Regions from separate parts of the Homo sapiens genome. Here regions 1 and 2 are each linked to region 3. Evidence: promoter capture Hi-C in 16 types of primary human blood cells and fetal thymus (Javierre and others, 2016). All regions are on one chromosome and are shown on one strand. Each heading gives the region's core, a stretch centred on a gene start or on the middle of the fragment in contact. The rest is flanking DNA. Distances are from core to core; before and after follow the strand shown.

What was found. Contacts are between HindIII fragments. The CHiCAGO score rates a contact against its expected background, and 5 or more counts as called.
Region 1: a contact is called between a fragment that was not itself captured here and the fragment with the promoter of C17orf107 in region 3, in 1 of 17 cell types (M0 macrophages). The highest score is 6.1, in M0 macrophages.
Region 2: a contact is called between a fragment that was not itself captured here and the fragment with the promoter of C17orf107 in region 3, in 7 of 17 cell types (total CD4 T cells, M0 macrophages, monocytes and 4 more). The highest score is 6.3, in total CD4 T cells.

What each region holds. Positions count from the first base shown.
Region 1 is chr17:4,648,586-4,652,724 of GRCh38, reverse strand. All of the region lies in intron 2 of LOC105371499 (a long non-coding RNA gene), which reads right to left. Among named protein-coding and RNA genes, the nearest start is that of ALOX15, 9.0 kb to the right of the region's middle. RefSeq lists a silencer at 2,926-3,141. The HindIII fragment of the contact is 7,362 bases long and covers 1-4,139 here.
Region 2 is chr17:4,750,924-4,755,177 of GRCh38, reverse strand. No RefSeq gene overlaps it. Among named protein-coding and RNA genes, the nearest start is that of CXCL16, 13 kb to the right of the region's middle. The HindIII fragment of the contact is 7,394 bases long and covers 1-4,254 here.
Region 3 is chr17:4,898,286-4,900,785 of GRCh38, reverse strand. C17orf107 (chromosome 17 open reading frame 107) reads right to left here and starts at 1,250. Exons shown (of 3, transcript NM_001145536.2): 1 at 958-1,250; 2 at 641-850; 3 at 1-549. The coding sequence starts at 1,023. The coding sequence ends at 253. CHRNE (cholinergic receptor nicotinic epsilon subunit) reads left to right here. Exons shown (of 12, transcript NM_000080.4): 9 at 1,204-1,318; 10 at 1,402-1,588; 11 at 1,679-1,785; 12 at 1,895-2,500. The coding sequence ends at 2,050. RefSeq lists an enhancer at 864-1,173 and silencers at 1,374-1,483, 1,504-1,653. The HindIII fragment of the contact is 47,734 bases long and covers 1-2,500 here.

The DNA of each region.
Region 1 (4,139 bases), core at 860-3,359, 250 kb after region 3:
TTTTTTTGTAATTTTAGTAGAGACGGGGTTTCACCGTGTTAGCCAGGATGGTCTTGATCTCCTGACCTCATGATCCACCCGCCTTGGCCTCCCAAAGTGCTGGGATTACAGGCTTGAGCCACTATGCCCGGCCACCACACATCTCTTGGCATCCACAAAGTGGAGTGCCACTGGGTGGATGTCTGCCCTGTTTGCAGCTGGTATGCCTTATCCCCTAGGCTTCTGTCTCCTGTAAGGCAAGGGGGCCTGTGGTTTCCGCCAACACTTTGTTTTGTTTTTTCAGATGGAGTCTCGCTCTGTCGCCCAGGCTGGAGTGCAGTGGTGTGATCTGGGCTCACTGCAACCTCCACCTCCCGGGTTCAAGCAATTCTCCTGTCTCAGCCTCTCCGGTTGGTGGGACTACAGGTGTGCACCACTACTCCCAGCTAATTTTTGTATTTTTAGTTTTTTCATAGAGACAGGGTTTCACCATGTTGTCCAGGCTGGTCTCAAACTCCTGACCTCAGGTGATCCACCCGCCTTGGCCTCCCAAACTGCTGGGATTATAGACATGAGCCACTGCGCCTGGCCAACACTTCTTGAGACAAGGAGTGACTTAGTTCATCTCTCCAGGCCTTCTTCTACTTTGTCTTTGACTTCTGCATGTCTGTTCCAGTTATTGCATAATGAATCACTCCAAAATGACGACTGAAGACATCAATCATTATTTTACTATTAGCGTTTAGAGTTTTGACAATTGACAGGGGCTCAGCTAAATTATCCTTACTTGGAGACTTTCATGTGGTTGTAGTTAGACAGTGGCTGAGGCTGGAGTCATCTGGAAGACTTCCTAAGTCATACTGGTGGTCAGTACTGGCTTTTTACCTGGATCTAGAGTTAGGGCTGTCGGCTGGGACATCCACACATGGTCTCTCCATGCCACCTGGGTTTCCTCACAGCATGGTGACCGTTCCAAGAGTGAGCAAAGGCTCACTCACAGAGTTAGCAAGAGTGATCCCAAGGCAGCAAAGTGAAAGGAATTGCATGGCATTTGACCTAGTCTCAGAAGTCACGGCCAGGCGCAGTGGCTCACGCCTGTAATCCCAGCACTTTGGGAGGCTGAGGTGGGCGGATCACGAGGTCAAGAGATCGAGACCATCCTGGCCAACATGGTGAAACCCCGTCTCTACTAAAAAGACAAAAATTAGCCAGGTGTGGTGGTGCATGCCTGTAATCCCAGCTACTTGGGAGGCTGAGGCAGGAGAATCACTTGAACTTGGGAGATGGAGGTTGCAGTGAGCCAAGATTGCGACATTGCACTCCAGCCTGGGCAACAAGAGCGAAACTCTGTCTCAAAAAAAAAAAAAAAAAAAAAAATATATATATATATATATATATATATATAGATTCAATGCAATCCCAATTTTAAAAAAAAGGATTTTAATTATTTATTTTAAGACAGAGTCTCACTCTGTTGTCCAGGCTGGAGTACAATGGCATGATCTTGGCTCACTGCAACCTCCGCCTTCTGGGTTCAAGCAATCCTCCTGCTTCAGCTCCTGAGTAGCTCGGATTACAGGTGCCCGCCACCATGCCCAGCTAATTTTTATATTTTTAGTAGAGACGGAGTTTCACCATGTTGGCCAGGCTGGTCTCGAACTCCTGGGGTTAAGTCACCTTCATGCCTCAGTCTCCCAAAGTGCTGGTATTACAGACGTGAGCCACTGCACCCGGCCAAAAATACAGTAGGAATTTATGCTAATAATTTTTATCAATATCAATAAGCAGATTGCAAAATTTATAGCAAAAGGCTAAGGTAATGGAATATCTAAAATAGTTTTGGAAATGAAGAACGATGTTTCAAGACTAGTACTACCTGATTTCAATACTTATAAAGCTACAGTCATCAAGTCAGTGTAGTATTGGTGGAATGATAAGCACGTAGATCATGGAGAAAAATAGCCCAAACATAGGCATAGGTGTGGTGAAGTGATTTTTGGCAAGGATGCAAAGGCAATTCAATGGAGGAATCAAGAAATGGTGCTGGAATGATATTTGCATATGAATATTCATATGCAAAAAATGAACTTGACCCATTCTTCATACCTCATACAAAATTTAACTCAATGGATCACAGACTTAAATATAAAGTGTGAAATCATAAACTTTCTAGAGAAAACAGGAGAGAATCTTTATGGTCTTTTGTTAGGCATAGGCAAAACACAATCCTTAATGAAAAAAATTGATGAATTGTACTTCATCATAATTCAAAACTACTCTGCTAAAGACACTGCTAAGAGATAAAAAGGCATCTTCACTCTGAGATGCTGCTTGTGGGGAGAAAATGTTTGTAAATCACACGTCTTTCAAAGGACATAATATCTGGCGGGACGCAGTGGCTCACATCTGTAATCCCAGCACTTTGGGAGGCCGAGGAGGGCGCATCACCTGAGGTCAAGAGTTCAAGACCACCAGCCTGGCTAACATGGTGAAACCCTGCCTCCACTAAAAATGCAAAAATTAGCCGGGGCATGGTGGCACATGCGTGTAATTCCAGCTACTTGGGAGGCTAAGGCAAGAGAATCGCTTGAACCGGGGAGGTGGAGATTGCGGTGAGCCGAGATTGCGTCACTGCACTCCAGCCTGGGTAATAGAGTGAGACTCCATCTCAAAAAAAAAATAAAAATAAATAAATAAAAAAGGACTTAATATCTAAAATATTGCTCCACGCTGGGCAGACTTACGCAAACCTATCTGCAAAAGTCTGAGGAAGCTGAGAGGCCGAAGAAAGAGGCTGACATATCTAGTTTCTCAGAAACATTTAATAGAAACTTAGGAACAGAAGCCACATCTGTGTCTCAGGTGGTGGTGAGACAAGATCGTGGATCCCCTCTCCACTACTCCCTAGACCCAGGCCTTATATATCATACGGAAAGGGTGCATGCTTCAGAAGGGATGTATAGGACAATTGCTGAAGGGCAGGCTTTATGGTAAGTACATACTCTTACACAAGGAACAATAGGTAAACTGGAAATCTTACAGGCTCCTTGAACTGTGGTTAATCAAAAGTCTACATGAGGCCGGGCACGGTAGCTCACGCCTGGAATCCTAGCACTTTGGGAGGCCAAGGCAGGTGGATCACTTGACGTCAGGAGTTTGAGACCAGTCTGGCGCATACTGGTCTCAGTGTGAACATAGTGAACCCTGTCTCTACTAAAAATACAAAAATTAGCTGGGCGTGATGGTGCATCCCTGTAATTCCAGCTACTTGGGAGGCTGAGGCAGGAGAATCACTTGAACCCAGGAGGCAGAGGTTGCGGTGAGCCGAGATCGCACCACTGCACTCCAGCCTGGGTGACAAAATGAGACTCTGTCTCTACAAAAAAAAAAAAAAAAAAAAGTCAACATAGCTGCTTAGCATCCAAGCTGGAGTTGCTCCACAAATATATAAATAACTCAAAACTCAACAACGAGGAAAAAAAAAAATCCACACAAGTTTGAATAGATACTTCACCAAAGTAGATATACAAATGTCAAATAAACACTTGAAAAGATGCTCAGTATAGTCAGTCATTAGCAAAATGTAAATTAAAACCATAACGGCATACCAGTGTATACCTATTAGAATGGCTAATCCCTCCCCACTCCCCCACAAACCATCCCTTGCATCCAAAACAAACAGTACCAAGTACTGGTGAGAATACAGAGCAGCTGGAACTGTCATACATCGCTAGTGAGAGACTGACTATACAAAAGGACAATGGACAGAATCAAATATAAACACAGACCTTTGTCCCATAACCTCTGTAGCAACCAGCCCTGGAAGGAAGCCAAACAAATCCTCTACAGCAATTGGCCTCAAACAGTAAGGGCTTGGTCAATAACTGCCAGATTTCTTCATTTCTGTCTCCACTTCCACTTAGGACCAACTGAGAAAGGCAAATATGCACCCCTAATCAATCATATAGCCTGCTCTGCTTCTAGTTCTGCTTATAGCTTCTCGGCGCCAACAGCCTCCAATCAGCTTGTTCTTAGGAAATCAGAAGTGGGAGGACCACTGAACCCCACTCCCTGACATCTTGATTGTTGAGAATTTGCCCTTAGAGGCTGAGCCAGATTCACATCAATTTCTGCTCCAAAATCTAAGGTGGTTCCTCCAG
Region 2 (4,254 bases), core at 1,043-3,542, 150 kb after region 3:
GGGGTGGAGGAAAAAATTGTACCGAAGTGCAGAGGACAAGGAACTGAAGCGGGGTGGCGGGGATGGTTGGATTGCCTAGGTGGATGTCTGAGTCCACACAAATGGAGACGTGATTAATGGTGGAGACGTAAATTTAAGGCAAATGCTTAAGCCTTTGATGAAGCTGGTAGATGTTGGAAGATGATTGCAACAAGGAGGGGTAACGGATGCTACAGTGTGTTGGCATGTGCTTTAAAGACGCTTTGGCACAGGAAGACAAATATCACACTGGTGTGGTTGCTCACGCCTGTAATCCCAGCACTTTGGCAGGTTGAGGCAGTTGGATCATTTGAGGTCAGGAGTTTGAGACCAGCCTGACCAGCATGGTGAAAACCCGTCTCTACTAAAATACAAAAATTAGCTGGGTGTGGTGGCAGGCACCTGTAATCTCAGCTACTCAAGAGGCTGAGGAAGGAGAATTGCTTGAACCCAGGAGGGGGAGGTTGCAGTGAGCCGAAATCACGCCACTGCACTCCGGCCTGGGCAACAGAGTGAGACTCCCTCTAAAAAAAAATTAAAATTAAAAAGAAAAAAAGAAAGACAAACATCACATGTTCTCACTTATTTGTGGGGTCTAAAAATCAAAACAATTGAACCCACGGAGATAGGGAGTAGAAGGGTGGTTACCAGAGGCTGGGAAGGGTAGTGTGTGTGTGGGGTAGGGGCAGGGAGGAGAGGGGGGTTGTGGGGGCGGTAGGGATGGTTAATGGGTACAAAAAATAGTTTGAATAATGTCTAGTATTTGATAGCACAACAGAGTGACTACAGTCAATAATAATTTAATTGTATATTTAAAAATAACTAAAAGTATAATTGGATTGTTTGTAACACAAAGGATAAATGCTTAAGGGGGATAAATGCTTTTATGATGTGATTATTACACATTACATTCTTGTACCAAAACATCTCTTGTACCCCATAAATATATATACCTACTATGAACCCAGAAAAATTAAAAATAAAAAAATTTAAAACAACAGATGCCTTTGTTTTGTTTTGGAGAGAGGAGAAATGTTTTGGAAGGGACAGCTGCCTCACTGCAGGTATGTGGAGGGTGGGAGAAAAAGGAAATAGCTGCCTCCTTGGAGCGTTGCAAGGGAGCAATGTCTTTGCGGGAAGAGCCAGGTTCCTATGAGAGCAAGAAGGCAAACAAAACTGAGAGAAGAGCTTGATGATTTGGGGATTTTGTTTTGCGAACATACTTTAGGTTTCCAAGGGTGCAATGAAAGGATTTGGGGCAGGGTGGAGAGGAGAAAGGAGAGTGAACCCAAATGGAGATGAACGGAGTCCTTTGGGGTAAGTCTGGGTGAAGATGCCTGCCCTGGCCACTGTGGACTTCTGGGGTGCCCACAACTAACAGGGAGGTAAAGCATGATGTTCTTTTTGCAGAAGGTGGGAAGTAGTTGTAGTTGCAGTCCATGGCTTAGGGTTGACCTCTTATTTTGCAATAGTAATAACACAACAACTTATACCATTTATTAAATACTTATCATGCTGAGAACTCTTCTAAGAATTTGCATTTATTAATTATTAATTATTTATTTGCATAATTTAAATGCAAATTATTTATTTGCATTTATTAATTTATTAATTGCCTTTGGTCTCACAAGTTCTGTGGAATAAGTACAGTTAATACCCCATTTTACAGGTGAGGAGACAGACACGGAGAGCTTGAGTCACTTATCCAGTGTGTGAAGTTAACTTGGGAGCCTTGATTTAAACTCAGGTGATGTGGACCCCTAAGCCTCAAACTTTATCTTTTTTTTTTTTTGAGACGGAGTCTCACTCTGTCTCCCAGGCTGGAGTGCAGTGGCACAATCTCGGCTCACTGAAACCTCCGCCTCCCAGGTTCAAGTGATTCTCCTGCCTCATCAGCCTCCTGAGTAGCTGGGATTACAGGCATGCACCACCATGTCCAGCTAATTTTTGTATTTTTAGTAGAGACAGGGTTTCACCATATTGGTCACGCTGGTCTCGAACTCCTGACCTCAGGCAATCCACCCACCTTGGCCTCCCAAAGTGCTGGGATTACAGGCGTAAGCCACTGTGCCCGGCAAACTTTATCATGTTCTATTCCATCTCCCATTATAGTGGTGAAGTGGGCAGTAGTGATCTTACCTGAAGCTCTTGGAGCCCTGTGGGTCTCCCTTAAGTTCCTTCATGTATTTCAAAGAAAACTTGACAGAGTGTTTCTGATTCTTTGCATGGCCAATCATCAATGCCTGGTATAAGAGAGACTGGCTCCAGCTGGGCGAGGCAGCTGGTGCCTATAATCCCAGCACATTGGGAGGCTGAGGCAGGAGGATTGCTTGAGGCCAGGAGTTTGAGACCAGCCTGAGCAACATAGCAAAACCCTGTCTCTACTAAAAATACAAAAAATTAGCTGGGTGTGGTGGTGCGCACCTGTAGTCCCAGTTACTTGGGAGGCTAAGGAGGAGAATTACCTGAGTCCGGGAGGTTGGGGTGGCAGTGAGCCAAGACTGCATCACTGCACTGCAGCCTGGGCAACAGAGTGAGACCCTGTTTCAAAGAGACAGAGAGAGGCCGGTCGCAGTGGCTCACGCCCGTAATCCTTCCACTTTGGGAGGCTGAAGCAGGCAGATCACCTGAGGTCAGGAGTTCGAGACCAGCCTGGACAACATGGTGAAACCCCATCTCTACTAAAAATACAAAAATTAGCCTGGTGTGGTGGTGTGTGCCTGTAGCCCCAGTTACTTGGGAGGCTGAGGCACGAGAATCTCTTGAACCCGGGAGGTGGATGTGGCAATGAGCTGAGATCCCACCACTGCATTCCAGCCTGTGTGACAGAGCAAGAGTATGTCTCAAAAAAGAAAAAAAAAAAAAGAAAAAAAAAAGAGCGAGACAGAGACAGGCTTCTAGGAAGGAAGGGCTTCCATAGCAAACATTTCTTAACTATCCCAGGAAATTGCCTCATTTTCCCAGAAGCGGAATGGCGAAGGGGTTAAAAGTGCATATTCTGGAGACAGATTGCCTGTGTTTGTTCACAGCCTACTTGGTTACTTTATCTTCACCTCCCTGTGCCTCAGTTTTCTCATCTGTAAAATGGGGGGTAATAAACACCTGACTTAAGTTTGTTGTGTGAGGAATAGACTGATAAATGCCAAGTGATTAGAACACAGTCTGGCACAGAGTAAGCGCTATATGAACGTTTGCTACTTGTAATTTCCATGTCAGACCAGTAAAGTTTGGATCTCAGAAGAGTTTCTCCAGAGTCTAATTCTAAATCTGCTCGTGACCACCCAGCTAGTAACCAGATGAGTCCAGTTTCAAACCAGGTTTGTTTAAATTCATAGTTCATGGTTCACCTGTCAGCAATTGATTGAACAACTAGACAAAAACCAGTAAGGAGATAGAAGAACTCAACAATGTCATAAACAAACAGGATGTAGTGAATACTTATAGATCATTCCACCCAATGACAGGAGAATACGTATTCAAGTACTCATGCAACAGATACCAATATAGTGCATATATCCCGGGCCATCAAACCAACCCCAATACATTTTAAAAAATTGAAATTGGCCAGGCGCTGTGGCTCACGCCTGTAATCTAAGCACTTTGGGAGGCCACGGAGGGTGGATCCCCTGAGGACGGGAGTTCGAGACTAGCCTGGGCAACATGGTGAAACCCTATCTGTGCTAAAAATACAAAATTAGACCGGGCACGGTGGCTCAAGCCTGTAATCCCAGCACTTTGGGAGGCCGAGGCGGGCAGATCACGAGGTCAGGAGATCGAGGCCATCCTGGCTAACACGGTGAAACCCCATCTCTACTAAAAGCACGAAAAGAAAAAAATTAGCCAGGTGCGGTGGCGGGCGCTTGTAGTCTCAAAACAAAAACAAAAACAAAAACAAAACAAAACAAAACAAAACAAAACCCAAGAAAGCAAAAACAAAACAAAAAAACCCACAAAAACACAAAATTAGCCAGGCGTGGTGATGCATGCCTGTAATCTCAGCTACTAGGTAGGCTGAGGCAGAAGAATCGCTTGAACCCGGGAGGCGGAGGTTGCAGTGAGACGAGATTGCACCATTGCACTCCAGCCTGGGCGACAAGAGCGAAACTCTGTCTCAAAAAAATAAAAGAAAAAAGAAAAACGATTGAAGTCATACAGAGCCACATTTTTGGGTTCCTTGGGATTCTCAATGCCTCTCAAAACCACACTGTGTCCCCTGAGAAATGGGGGGATCCCTGC
Region 3 (2,500 bases), core at 1-2,500:
CGGAGCCCCCGCGGGGGTGTGGCCAGTGTGAAGGGTGGGGGCGTGGCCAAAACCCAGAGACCCCGGGAAAAGCTCTGGCTGTCTCGCCCCGCCCTGGGCTTTATTCGGACGCTGGGTGGGGCTGGTACGGGGATGGAGTCCCTGGTCCGCCGTCCTCCTCACTGCTGCTGGACGTCACCTGGAGGTCTCCCGAGTAGCTCTCTTGGGGGACAGTCCGGCTCAGTGCCTCCCTAGCCCCGCCGCCTCTGGCCCCTAACTCACCCCGTGTCCTGAGCTCACCGGTTCTCCGGGGATTCCGAGGCCTAGCTGCTGTTGCGACTGTCGCAGGAATGAGGCAGACCCCTGCAGACCCCGTCCACACAGGCATAGCCATGCTCCCTGGACTAGGAGCCGGGCGCTGGCGCCCACCGCAGCCCCAGCTTGCCGAACCCCCTGCCCTGCGGCTTGGGCTACCCGGCTCAGCGCTGCACCCGGATCCCTGCCGTCTGGGGCTGGGCCCGCGCTGCCGTCTAGTCGCCGCGCCTCCTGCTGCAGCCACAGGGCTGAGATCTGCATTGGGGGCACAGGGGTTAGCGGGGAGGCAGAGGTCCTTGTTCCCGCTACCCGATCGCCGCGTATCCTAAGCCCCCCAGTACCCCACCTCTAACAAGGTGGTGCCGAAGCTCACGAGGCTGGCTGTGGCTTCTCTCAACACCAGCCCCAGGGTGGGCTTCGGGGCAGGCAGCATCCCCTGCATCTTCGGTTCGGGTGGCTCCAGGGACTTCAGCTCTCTGAACCTCTGCTCCAGATATTCATGGGCTGCGGCCACGGAGAGTTCCAGGGAAGACAGAAGCGGGGGCTGGAGGGCCACCTGGAGAAGGAGCAGAGCAGTAGAGTAGCAGGGCAGGGGTCACAGGGGCGAACAGGAGACCTACCCAGAAGGTCTCGAGGTGCAGCCCTTGGCGGGCGTAGCCTCACCTCGGTGGAGCTGTGGAAGTGGTAGATCCACATCAGGGTGTCCAGGGAGCTGGGGGTCCCCTTCATGGCCGCCACAAGTGGTAGGACAGGAGAAGGGCTGGGGGACGCGTCTGTCGTCGTGTAGGGGGCGCAGCTGGAGGGCGTAACCAGCCCGTACCAGGAGAAGCCGTGTTTGTGAGGTCAGCGCGCGGCGCCTTCGGTAGCTGGGAGGAGGAACGGTGATGTCATGCCTTCCGGGCTCCTCAGGTTCCTTATTTTCGTCATGGTGGTCGCCACGCTCATTGTCATGAATTGCGTCATCGTGCTCAACGTGTCCCAGCGGACGCCCACCACCCACGCCATGTCCCCGCGGCTGCGCCACGTAAGCGCGGAGGGGGCGGTGCAGCCCGGGTCGGGGTGGGGCTTCGTACTAACCTCGTCCCCTAAGCCCCGCCCCTGCCCCAGGTTCTCCTGGAGCTGCTGCCGCGCCTCCTGGGCTCCCCGCCGCCGCCCGAGGCCCCCCGGGCCGCCTCGCCCCCAAGGCGGGCGTCGTCGGTGGGCTTATTGCTCCGCGCGGAGGAGCTGATACTGAAAAAGCCACGGAGCGAGCTCGTGTTTGAGGGGCAGAGGCACCGGCAGGGGACCTGGACGGGTGAGCACAGTGGCCCTGGCCCGGGGGGCCGCGCGGGGTGCCTGCCAGGGGGGAGGCTCCTAAGGCCCACCCCGGTGTTTTCCCCGCCAGCTGCCTTCTGCCAGAGCCTGGGCGCCGCCGCCCCCGAGGTCCGCTGCTGTGTGGATGCCGTGAACTTCGTGGCCGAGAGCACGAGAGATCAGGAGGCCACCGGCGAGGTGGGACAGGAGCCAGAGGCGGGTGGAGCGAGGCAGAGGCCCACCACTGTCTCCCATGCCGCTGGCTCCTGCAGCTGCCTCTTTACTGACTGTGCCGACCCTTCCCCAGGAAGTGTCCGACTGGGTGCGCATGGGGAATGCCCTTGACAACATCTGCTTCTGGGCCGCTCTGGTGCTCTTCAGCGTGGGCTCCAGCCTCATCTTCCTCGGGGCCTACTTCAACCGAGTGCCTGATCTCCCCTACGCGCCGTGTATCCAGCCTTAGCTCGCACCGACTTCAATTTCCCACCCATCTCCAGTAGGAAATTGATTTTGAAAAAGTAGGCTGCCGCCACCACGGCATTATGATCCCTTCCCCCTGCTGATCAATCTGCAGTTTGTGAACTTCACAAGAATGGTGTGTGCCCGTTCCCTGGCGTGTGTAGGCCTGGCCGCAGTCCAGGGGTCAGCAGGAGGAAAGGGTTCACATAGGCTCTCAGGTGCCAGTCTTCCAGAAAGCAAGGACTGCCCTTCATTCAGCCTTGCTGACCTCCCAGCCTTTCTAAGGCTCAGCCCCACGGGACTCTGGTGGCTGCCAGCTTGTGAGCTATCTATCTATATTCATTTCATAGCCAAACAGGAGACCCCTTTGCAGGACTTGCACACAGGGAGGCTGTAGCCAGGAAACCCTCTTCTTCCCTGGTCTGGCTCTGCTGGAGCGGGTGGGAACCAAACA